4 separate regions of the Homo sapiens genome follow, and regions 2, 3 and 4 are each linked to region 1. Evidence: promoter capture Hi-C in human tissues and cell types (Jung and others, 2019). All regions are on one chromosome and are shown on one strand. Each heading gives the region's core, a stretch centred on a gene start or on the middle of the fragment in contact. The rest is flanking DNA. Distances are from core to core; before and after follow the strand shown.

Region 1 (2,700 bases), core at 187-2,686:
CTCCGGGTGCTTTGGGAGCTCCATAGAGGGGTCAGGCCAGCTGAACTAAGAGGTAGGGAACAAAGTCCAGGAAGAGGCCTCTACACAAGCAAAGGCCTCGAGGTGAGTCCAAGCAAATGGACCTCCAGTCTCTGCAGAGGAGGAGTGAGTGGGCTGGCAGGTAGCTCCAGCCTGGGGCCCAGAGTAGGCACAAAATGCAGATGGGGAGGTGCTTAGAAGGAACCTTAGCCCCAGGCAGGGACAGGGAGCCAGGAGAAGGTGGGGGTACTGCAGCTGAGGAGGAGGGGAGGCTGCCGGCAGCAGGGCATTGATTATTCCCCAGGAGTCCCAGCCTGGGGAGGCGGAGATAGGCACACATTCCCAGCCTAGCCCTGCGGGTTCAGACGCCCTGTGATGGACAGGGCTAGGGTCGGGGGATGGACGTGCTGTTCTAGAGAATGGATCATCACAGCGGATAGGAAGGCGCGACAGGCAGACGGAACGGCACATGCAAAGCCTTGGCAGTGGGTTAAGTTGCTTGTCAAGGATTCAGGGTGGCTATAAGGATAGGTGCTATCCACCAAGAGGCCCGAGTGTCAGGTGGAGGCTCTGAGCATCCTTCAGTCACGGGGAACCCCAAGAGGTGTCCGAGCAGGGCGGAGGGGCGCCACATTCTCGGGTGCCCAATTTACCCATTCCTAGGCCTCTGTTACCCTCATTCTACAGGTGGGGAAACTGAGGCCCCGAGAGGGGATGCCCAGAAAACCGCCTGGATCTGCCTGCCAGCCCGCCCCCACGCCCCGGTGTGCGCGCCCCGGGAGCAGCGCTCCCCGAATCCGGGAGGCGGGAGGGGCGGGGCAGGCAGGGCTGGGGGCTCCGCGGGTGAAGGCAGGGCCTGAGCGCTCACACAGACGCGCACTTGGGTCTGCGTGGACCCGGCCACCCGGCTAGGGGACCGGAAGTGGGTTCGACCCCCGGCCCTCCCGCACCCCATTCTGCCCCGCACAATGCCTGGGCGCCCCTCGGTACTATTCGAAGCCCCATTCCAGGCAGGGCCTCCCTTCATTTGGGGCCTCGGCTCCAGTCCGGTATCTTGGACGCGGGGAGTCTCTCCCCATTCTGCCCCGACCGTCCCAAGGAGGCTGCACCGCTGCGGAGCCGAGCCCGAGGCCCCCCCTTGCCTGCGGCCCCCCCAGTTCCCGCGGGGCCCGACGCAGCCTGGCGCTTGCGTTCTGGCTTCCACCGGGGCCCGGCACTGCCCCCGGGCGCCCCGCATTTAAGCACACTCCCAGCCGCCCCCGCCACGAGGGCCAGTCAGGACTCACCTGGTCGCGGCCGCCACCGCCGCCGCAGCCGCCGTCACACCAAGCCAAGCCCGCCCCGTGGCTCCACCGCGGCCACCGTCGCCGCAGCCGCGGGATCCCCGCCTCCGCCGCCGCCACGGTTCCGAGCGGCCTGGCCCGCCCCCGGCGGAAATGCCCGAGCGCATTCGAGCCGGGCGGATGAACCGAGGCCGAGGCGGAGCCTGAGGTAAGGGGGCACCCGAGTGTTTCCGGAAGTAGCCGAACGTAATCCCGCGGGACTGGTGGACTAGAGGGTGCCCCCGAGACAGCCGAGCGTTTCCAGAGGTAGCCGAGTGCAATCGGGTCGGCGAGGGATCCGAGACTGGGCTCGGCTGGGCTTAGAGACGCCCGAGCGCTTTCGGAAATGGCCGAACACTCTCTACGGCCGCACTGGCACAACTGAGGCTGATCCCCAAGACCGCGGAGCGTTTCTGGAAATAACCGAATGTGCTCAGTGCCCAATGGAGGCCTTGGGAGTTTAGACCCAGAGGCGACCGCCAGCTTATGGGAATTACTGAAGCATAGATGGTTCCAGGGGACAAATGAGGCGTTCTCAAGCTCAGCAAACAGGGGGCAGTAGAGTGGGGAAAGGGCCTGCCGCAAAAAGCAGAAGTCGGAGAAAGCCAGGGTTGAAGGAGTTTCCATGGCAACCCAGAGCGTCCGGAAACAGCCAACGATCTCGACCCCTACGGGCACTAGAATTTAGCGGACTTGAGCCTAGATGCCGACGGTTTCCGGAAATAGCCGAACGCACTCGGAGATGGGGCTGTAGCCAAGAGTGTTTGCATGCCGGCTGAGCGCCCCGGAAGTAACGGATTGCTCTAGGGCTGGGCCGGGTTCGGCTAGAGGGAGTTTTATGGCAGAGCGCAAGCTAAGACCAGGATAGAAAGGACGCGACGATTGCTTATTTTGTTATTATTTTTTGAGACGGAGTTTCGCTCTTGTTGCCCAGGCTGGAGTGCAATGGCGCTATCTCGGCTCGCCGCAACCTCCACCTCCCGAGTTCAAGCGATTCTCCTGCCTCAGCCTCCCGAGCAGCTGGGATTACAGGCATGCGCCACCACGCCCGGCTAATTTTGTATTTTTAGTAGAGACGGGGTTTCTCCATGTTGGTCAGGGTGGTTTGGAACTCCCGACCTCAGGAGATCCGCCCGCCTTGGCCTTCCAAAGTGCTGGGATTACAGGCGTGAGCCACCGCGCCCCGCCGCTTATTTATTTTATTAACATAGCCCAGGGCGCCCAGGAGGTCGAGGCTGCAATGTGCCGTGATTGCGCCACTGTACTCCAACCTGGGTTACAGAGCGAGACCTTGTCTCAAAAACATAAAAATAAAAAACATAGCTCAGGGCCCAGATGTCTGGAGGAAGCTTTTAAAGGC
Region 2 (2,700 bases), core at 86-2,585, 190 kb before region 1:
TCCGTCTCAAAAAAAAAAAAATACGGTCCATCTGGGCCAGTGATCCCACAGGATATGAATGCTATGCAGAGATGCTGTAGCCTGGGATAGCAGGTAGGGGCTGTGGCTCAGGAGGGGACCTCCTAACTCTATCCTTCTGTACAGCCAAAGTTTGAGTCTCAGCTCAGCCCCTTACAAACTGGATGACCTCTGTGAGCCTCAGTTTCCCTTTCTGCAAAATGGAGACAGTAAAGATGTAATCAGCTCATGCAAAAAGTGCTGGAATAAATAACCAGATAAAGGAAGGCTGGAAGGGATGGGGGCAGTGACCCTCCTCCCAATTATACACACCTGTTAAGCAGGTGCCTTGTTTCTTCCTTCTTCCCTGAATCTCCTGGATCAGCCTCAATCTCCCTTCAACAGCCACAAAACACCTGTGTGCACCTTTGCTGGATTTCCCACTCTGACCCCTCCAGACAGCAGGTCAAAATGACCCCCCCACTCCTTGACTCTGAGGCCCCAGCGGAAGTTGGCGCCCCACGTGGCCCCGAGGCGGAGTCTCAGGGAGGAGAAACAGTTGGTTTGGGGGTGGGGGGGAGTCGGTGACAGCAGGGGCCCTGACTCACCAACAAACAGCCCTGGCACAAAACACAAAAAGGTTTCCGCTGAAGACAGTCCCTGGGACAGCTGGGAGAGCCCGAGGTCCCCGGACCCCCACCTGCCCCTGCCTTGGGAGAGTAGCCCCCCAGGAGCGCAGGGCGCGGCGAGCAGTGACTGGGAGGTTCATTTGTCACTGGGACACTTCCTGCCCGCAAATCGGCCTTTGTCCCCTGGGGCCAGGGGTTGGGGGAGCGGTGTGGGGACAGGCTGGACCTCGGAAGGGGCAGGGAGGAAGGGTCCAGTCCAGCCCGCAGGCCAGACAGAGGAGGCAGGTGCCAGGAGGGTCACCATCCCCACCTTGGGAGGAAAGGACGCCAGGGGGGCCTGCGCAGCGCCGGGCTTTTGCCCGGCCCCCCAAGCCCCGCGCCCGACTGCCCTGACTCCCGACCCTGGGACCCCCAAGGCTCCTCCTCCTCCACTTTCCAGGAAGCCTGGGCTGCGCGGGGCTCCCGCGGGTGATGACACCTTCCAAATCTGAGAGGACTTCCAGCACCTGCCCCTCTCGGCCCCGCAGTCCCGGAGCCGCCCCCGCCTCTGCCCCCGGCCGCTGCCGCTACAGCCCCCATCAGCCAGCGTACCCGTCACTACCACCGCCTTCCTCGGCTGCTCCATGGCGGGATCGGGCTGTGCCTCGGACCTGCTTCTGTTGCGACTGGCGCGACAGCTGCTGCCGCTGCAGCCTCTCGGCCGCGCGAGGCCACGCCCCTGTCAAGCCCCCGGCCTCGCCCCCGGTCAGCCGCTCGGCGTGCGCGCCCCCGGGCCCGAGACGCAGCGTGCGCGCCCTGCGCCCCGCCCCCGTCGGCTAGGCCCGGTATTCCCCAGCCTCCGTTTCCCCGTCTGCAAAATGGGAACATCTTATGCCGTAGTGTGTAGCCGCTTGCACGCACTGAGCCAGGTGCTGGGGATGAGCCGGTCCTTTATTCTGCAAGGGTTCATTGAGGGCCTGCCCTATGCATGCATACTGCGCAGAATTAGGGAGGGAAGTCCCCGCGAGCAAGGCCCGTTTTCCAGATAAGGAAACTGAGGCACAGAATGCCACTTCCCCGAGGTCACTCGCCTCAAGGGGTCACAGGAGCAGCATTCAGGCCAGGAAGTTGGCGGGGGTGGGGGAGGACAGAGTAAAAAAGGAAAAACACGACAACCATATTTGTGTGGTGCCAGAAGTTTCTCTGCAGGCCCCCATGGTCCTAGGAGGCTAATGGGGGAGGGCGATTGTACCTGCTGTTCCCTCTGCCGGAACACACCCCGCAGGTACCTGCGAAGCTGGCCTCCTTCAGGCCTCAGCTCCAGTGTTCCAATGTCGCCTCCTCCCAGGGGCCCTCCTCCTGTCCTGGCTGTCACCTCCTCCGAGGGGTGAACTGTCACTTTCTCCTTGTGGCCTTCTCTGGCTATCACCTCCCTGCTATCCTATTACCTCCTCTGAGGGTTCCTTCTGGCCCTCCTTGGCTGAAATGACCTCACTGCTACCCCCCAGTGGTTCCATCTCATTCCCTGGTTCCATCCTCTTCATAGCAATAAAGCTCAGAAATAATTTCCTTTCTCTCTCTTTTTTTTGGAGACAGGGTCTCACTCTGTTACCCAGGCTGGAGTGCAGTGGCAAAATCATAGCTCTGTAACTTTGACCTCCAGGGCTCAACTGATCCTCACATCTCAGCCTCCTGAGTAGCTGGGACTACAGGTGTGTGGCACCACACCCAGCTAATTTTTGTATTTTTGTAGAGATGGGGGTTTCATAGTGTTGCACAGGCTGGTCTCGAACTCCCGAGCTCAAGCAATCCGCACACCTTGGCCTCCCAAAAGTGCTGGGATTACAGGTGTAAACCAGCACACCTGGCCAGAAATCATTTTTAATTTTTTTTAGCTTTTAAGTTTTGGGGTACATGTGCAGGTTTGTTATATAGATAAACTCGTGTCATGGGGTTTGTTGTACAGATTATTTAGTCCCCCAGGTATTATTAAGCAGAAATTATATATGTATTTATTTATTTGAGACGTAGTTTCACTCTTGTCACCCAGGCTGGAGTGCAGTGGTGTGATCTTGGCTCACTGCAACCTCTGCCT
Region 3 (2,700 bases), core at 179-2,678, 240 kb after region 1:
GCAGGAGGATTGCTTCAGCCCAGGAGTTCAAGACCAGCCTGGGCAACTTAGTGAGTTGCTGTCTCTACAAAAGATAAAAAATTAGCTGGGCATGGTGGTGTGTGCCTATAGTCCCAGCTACTCGGGAGGCTGAGGTGGGAGGATTGATTGAGCCTGAGAGTTTGAGGCTGCAGTGAATCAACATCTCCCCACTGCACTCCACCCTGGGCAACACAGCAAGATTCTTTTTCTAAAGAAAAGTTTAAAAATAAAAATAAATAGTCTGGGCAGGGTGGCTCATGCCTGTAATCCCAGCACTTTGGGAGGTGGAAGTGGGCAGATCACTTGAGGCCAGGAGTTTGAGACCAGGGTGGCCAACATAACAAAACCTCATCTCTACTAAAAATACAAACATTAGCCAGGCCTGTGGCGCACACCTGTAGTCCCAGCTACTCGGTAGGCTGAGGCAGGAGAATCGCTTGAACCCAGGAGGCGGAGGCTGCAGTGAGCTGAGATCGCACCACTGCGCTCCAGCCTGACAACAGAACGAGACTCCGTCTCAAAATAATAATAAATAAATAAATAAATAAATATTTGGTCTTTTGACCCCAGTTCCTGACAGAGTGATGGGAGTGTCTGACATAGAGCTCCTAAATCCCCTAGAGTTTCCTGGGTGATAGGAGCGTCTTTGGTTCTAAAAAGATGACTCTTGGTGGGTTCCTGGGTGGGGACCAACAAGACCAAGCCATCATTAGAAGCTTGGAGCTTTCAGCCCCACCCTCTTTCTCTGGAGACCGGAGAGGGGCTAGGGACTGAGTTAATAATCAATCATGCCTTCATAATGAAGCCCCCATAAAAATCCCCAAAAGATGGGGTTTGAAGAGCTTCCGAGTTGATGAACACATCTGCAGGTTGCAAGGGTGGGGTATCCCACTCTATAGAGACCATTGTGTCTCAAGGCGGGCTGTTTTGTGGGATTGAGCCCTTAACCTGCGGGATCTGATGCTGTGTCCGAGTAGATAGCATCGGAACCAAATTGCATCAGAGGAATCCCAGCTGGTGTCCACTGGAGAATTGCTTACTATGTGGAAAAAATAAAGACAACCCACACATCTGGTGTCAGAAGTGTGGTGTTGAGTGGGATGTGTGTTTTGTTTGTTCCTCTTACATTGTGTTTTGAAATAAAACCAATACTCAGCCGCAAAGCAACCGCATTGGTCACCCTTCTGCAACGATTGTGTTAATGTTTTTCTTGATTTCGTCAAACATGAGAGCCGCAGGGGTCTGCAGATTTTCATAACAAGGCCTCCAGGACAAATTGGCTCTTGAAATTATTTTGTGATTAAAAAGAAAAAAGAAAAGCCAAATTTAAAAAAATAAATTAAAAGAAGATTTAATAAGATTTATATGTATTCAAAAGAAGATTTAGTAAGATTTGTATGTATTCACCAGGAAACATGTTTTATGATTTGTTTTGGAAGGGCAAAAGCAATTTCCACAGTAATGTGAATTTTGTAATCTAATATTCTTTTTTTTTCTTTTTTTAGATTTTTGAGGCAGGGTCTCACTCCCATCACCCAGGCTGAAGTGCAGTAGCATGATCACAACTCACTGCAGCCTCAACTTCCCAGGCTCGGGCGATCCTCCCACCTCAGCCTCCTGTGTAGCTGGGACCACAGGCATGCATCACCATACCAGGCTAATATTTGTATTTTTTGTAGAGATGCAGTTTCACCATGTTGCCCAGGCTGGTCTCAAACTCCTGGGCTCAGATGATCGCCCCACCTCCCAAAGTGGTGGGATTACAGGCGTGAGGCACTGCACCTGGCTCATTTTTCTAAGAAAAAAAAAAATCTTTCTGTCTAGATTTTTTTTTTTCATGTTTGAGGGCTCTGCATTGCTGGGGCAACTGTGGATTTGACCAGCTCCTTGAACAATCCATTGCCAGGTCAGGACTTGGAGAAAGCAACGTGGATGACCCAGAGAGGGGCAGCGACTGGCTGCAGGCCACACAGCAATTTCATCAAGATTCCATCCTTAGGCCAGGAGTGGTGGCTCACGCCTATAATCCCAGCATTTTGGAAGGCCTAGGTGGGCAGATCACTTGAGGTCAGGAGTTCAAGACCAGACTGGCCAACATGGCGAAACCTTGTCTCTACTAAAAATATGAAAATTAGCTGGGTGTGGTGGCGGGTGCCTGTAATCCCAGCTACTCGGGAGGCTGAGGCAGGAGAATCGCTTGAACCCGGGAGACGGAGGTTGCAGTGAGCCAAGAATATGCTACTGCACTCCAGCCTGGGTGACAGAGCAAGAGTCTGTCTCAAAAAAAAAAAAAAAAAAAGATTCCATCTTGGTGGGGTAGGTGGCATGAGGTGAGCTACCTCCTGAGAGCCACCAGTTTTGGGATGATCCTCAATCCCAGCCCGTCTCAGACCTGGCTCTGGGGAGAATAGGATGTAGGGGAGACCTTCCATCCTTGCCGTGCTGTGCCCCAGGTGGGCCTGGAGCCAGCTGCACCTGAAGCTGACACAGCCCTGGGCCTCGGTAGGAGGCAAGTGGAGTCATTCCAGTGGAAACTTACCTGCTTCCTGCCTGGTCTTGTCTTCTGCTCCACCTGGCTTCTTGACAACTCTCCCGCTGTACCAGAAAGAATAGGAATTCAGGGCCTCAGTATTGGCTTAAGCTACAGATACCAAGATCAGCAGGGGAGACAGAGACAAG
Region 4 (2,700 bases), core at 31-2,530, 240 kb before region 1:
AAAATAAAGTAAAATGAGGGAGAATTACAGCCCCCATCATAGTGTGTTGGGGTAAGAATTAAGTGAGTTCCCATATATGGGACAAACTTCCCCCCCTTATGACCTGTAAACCCAGTTTCTGGCGGCCAAGGATGGGGAGACAGGAGGCAACTGCTTGAGCGGAGTTGGGGCTCCGCGGTGGCGGTCAGCAGCATAGGCCCAGGTCCCATGTGACCCAAGGCTGTCTCTGAACCTCCATTTCTGTCTCCATAGAGTGGGGACAGCCCCCCATTTCCCCATGACACACATGAGATACTAAAGAGGTGCCCTACAAAGTCCCATCACCACTAGATGATTTTTTTTTTTTTTTTTTTGAGATGGAGTCTGGCCCTGTCATCCAGGCTAGAGTGTAGTGACACGATCTCGGCTCACTGCCAGCTCCGCCTCCCGGGTTCATGCCATTCTCCTGCCTCAGCCTCCCGAGTAGCTGGGACTACAGGCGCCCGCCACCACGCCAGGCTAATTTTTTGTATTTTTAGTAGAGACGGGGTTTCACCGTGTTAGCCAGGATGGTCTCGATCTCCTGACCTCGTGATCCGCCCACCTCAGCCTCCTTAAGTGCTGGGATTACAGGTGTGAGCCACCGCGCCCAGCCGACATTTTTTTTTGAGACAGTGTCATTCTGTCGCCCTGGCTGGAGTGCAGTGGCACCATCACAGATCACTGCAGCCTCAAGCTCCTGGCCTCAAGTGATCCTCCTGCCTCAGTCTCCAGAGTAGTTGGGACCACAGGCACATGCCGCCGCACCCAACTAATTTTTGTATTTTTCATAGAGACGGGGGTCTTGCTATATTTCTCAGGCTGGTCTCAAACTCTTGGCCTCAAGTGATCCTCATGTCTTAGCCTCCCAAAGTGCTGGCATTATGGGTGTGAGCCACCGCCACCGGCTTCTGGATGATTTTGCTGGGCTTAGACAAATGAGTTGAACTTTTCTAGGTTGGTGTGGGGTGCGGTGGCTCATGCCTATAATCCCAGCACTTTTCGAGGCCAAGGCGAGGTCAGATCACCTGTGGTCAGGACCTCAAGACCAGCCTGACCAACATGGTGGAACCCTGTTTCTACTAAAAAATACAAAAATTAGGCCGGGCACGGTGGCTCATGCCTGTAATCCCAACACTTTGGGAGGCCAAGGCAGGAGGATCACGAGGTCAGGAGTTCGAGACCAGCCTGGCCAATATGGTGAAACCCTGTCTCTACTAAAAATACAAAAATTAGCCGGGCATGGTCGTGGGTGCCTGTAATCCCAGCTACTTGGGAGGCTGAGGCAAGAAGAATCACTTGAACCCAGGAGGTGGAGGTTGCAGTGAGCCCAGATCGCACCACTGCACCCCAGCCTGGGCGACAGAGCGAGACTCCGTCTCAAAAAAAAAAAAAAAGAAAGAAAGAAAGAAAAAAAGAAAAGAAAAGCTTTTCTAGGTTGGAAAAGGGAATGGAGGGAATTTCAAGGGGTGGGACCCTCAGGGGCAGAGACCCAGAGGTGGGAAAGAACAGAGAATTTGCTGTGAATGGTTTTTGAGAAGGGATGACTTGAAAGCTGAGGCCTGAGGGGAACAGGGAGGGCCAAGCAGGAAGGGGCCGCGGCCATGGCTGTGTTTGGGCAGCAGAGTCCGTGCCAGGAGGTGGGGAGGCTATCGGAAGGCTGTTGGTGAGAAAGGAGAAAATATGCAAAGCAGATGTCAACATGGCTCAAAAGCAGAAATGGTCTGAGGCAGGGTGTTGAAGACACTGGACTCGCAAAAGCAGCTTGTGCTCTGATGTTCATCTTGGCCTCCCTGTCCCCGAGGCTTCCGGATCAGCCTCCTTTATGTACTGGCCTCCAGAAACACTGTGTTTAGAATTGACTGTGTCATTTCCACCCTGCATCTTACAGTTACAGACATGGAGGCTCTGGGAGGCAGGGAAATGACTTGTCCAAGGTCACATAGCCAGTCAAAAAAGGCAGGACACAAACCCTGCGTCCCAGACCTGTTCGTCCCCCTACAACCACTTAGGGGTTGGTGGGCAATTCGTACTAGAGTATAATTGACTGATAGATGCTGTTAACACAAAGTAGCCCTTTTGCCTTTTTTTTTTTCCCGCTCTGTCGCCCAGGCTAGAGTGCAATGGCATGATCTCGGCTCACTGCAACCTTCACCTCCCGGGTTCAAGTGATTCTCCTGCCTCCTGCCTCAGCCTCCCGAGTAGCTGGGATTACAGGCGCCCACCATCACACCCGGCTAATTTTAGTAGAGACGGGGTTTTGCCATGTTGGCCAGGCTGGTCTTGAACTCCTGACCTCAGGTGATCTGCCCACCTTGGCCTCTCAAAGTGCTGGGATTATAGGCGTGAGCCACCGCACCTGGCCCAGTGGCCCTTTTTACAAGAGGAGCTGGGTTGGAATTAGAATGTTCAGGAGGCAGGAAAATTCTCTGGAGGTCTTGCTGACCATAACAAATATTCCTAAGTAGCTACCTGCTCCTTGACCAATTCTATAGATGCAGAAACTGAGGCTCAGAGACTTGCTTTTATATATGAGGGCCACAAAGTCAGTTGCTTCAGTGGTGAAAACATTTCCCATCGGAAGGAGCACAGAGTGTGGGTGCAGCCACTTGTGTGCATGTGACTGACGTGGCCAGAGCTTCCGATTTTTCAAGAGGAAACAAAAATTTAGATTTTAATGTA

What was found. Contacts are between HindIII fragments. The study calls those that stand out against the background at their distance.
Region 2: a contact is called between the fragment with the promoter of PGPEP1 here and the fragment with the promoter of PIK3R2 in region 1, in 3 of the 25 tissues and cell types used here (IMR-90 fibroblasts, dorsolateral prefrontal cortex and lymphoblastoid cells).
Region 3: a fragment that was not itself captured here is called in contact with the fragment with the promoter of PIK3R2 in region 1 in 1 of the 25 tissues and cell types used here (H1 embryonic stem cells).
Region 4: a fragment that was not itself captured here is called in contact with the fragment with the promoter of PIK3R2 in region 1 in 1 of the 25 tissues and cell types used here (spleen).

Annotation. Positions count from the first base shown.
Region 1 is chr19:18,151,899-18,154,598 of GRCh38, reverse strand. It overlaps PIK3R2 (phosphoinositide-3-kinase regulatory subunit 2), which reads right to left and starts at 1,436. Exons shown (of 16, transcript NM_005027.4): 1 at 1,305-1,436. RefSeq lists silencers at 566-785, 1,096-1,475 and enhancers at 1,586-1,865, 1,171-2,063, 2,606-2,685. The HindIII fragment of the contact is 11,749 bases long and covers 1-2,700 here.
Region 2 is chr19:18,339,233-18,341,932 of GRCh38, reverse strand. PGPEP1 (pyroglutamyl-peptidase I) reads right to left here and starts at 1,335. Exons shown (of 5, transcript NM_017712.4): 1 at 1,218-1,335. The coding sequence starts at 1,251. RefSeq lists an enhancer at 778-1,465 and a silencer at 1,297-1,486. The HindIII fragment of the contact is 61,917 bases long and covers 1-2,700 here.
Region 3 is chr19:17,909,434-17,912,133 of GRCh38, reverse strand. No RefSeq gene overlaps it. Among named protein-coding and RNA genes, the nearest start is that of CCDC124, 22 kb to the left of the region's middle. The HindIII fragment of the contact is 5,842 bases long and covers 1-2,700 here.
Region 4 is chr19:18,393,024-18,395,723 of GRCh38, reverse strand. The region is part of intron 1 of LRRC25 (leucine rich repeat containing 25); the gene reads left to right. Among named protein-coding and RNA genes, the nearest start is that of LRRC25, 3.2 kb to the left of the region's middle. The HindIII fragment of the contact is 2,096 bases long and covers 233-2,328 here.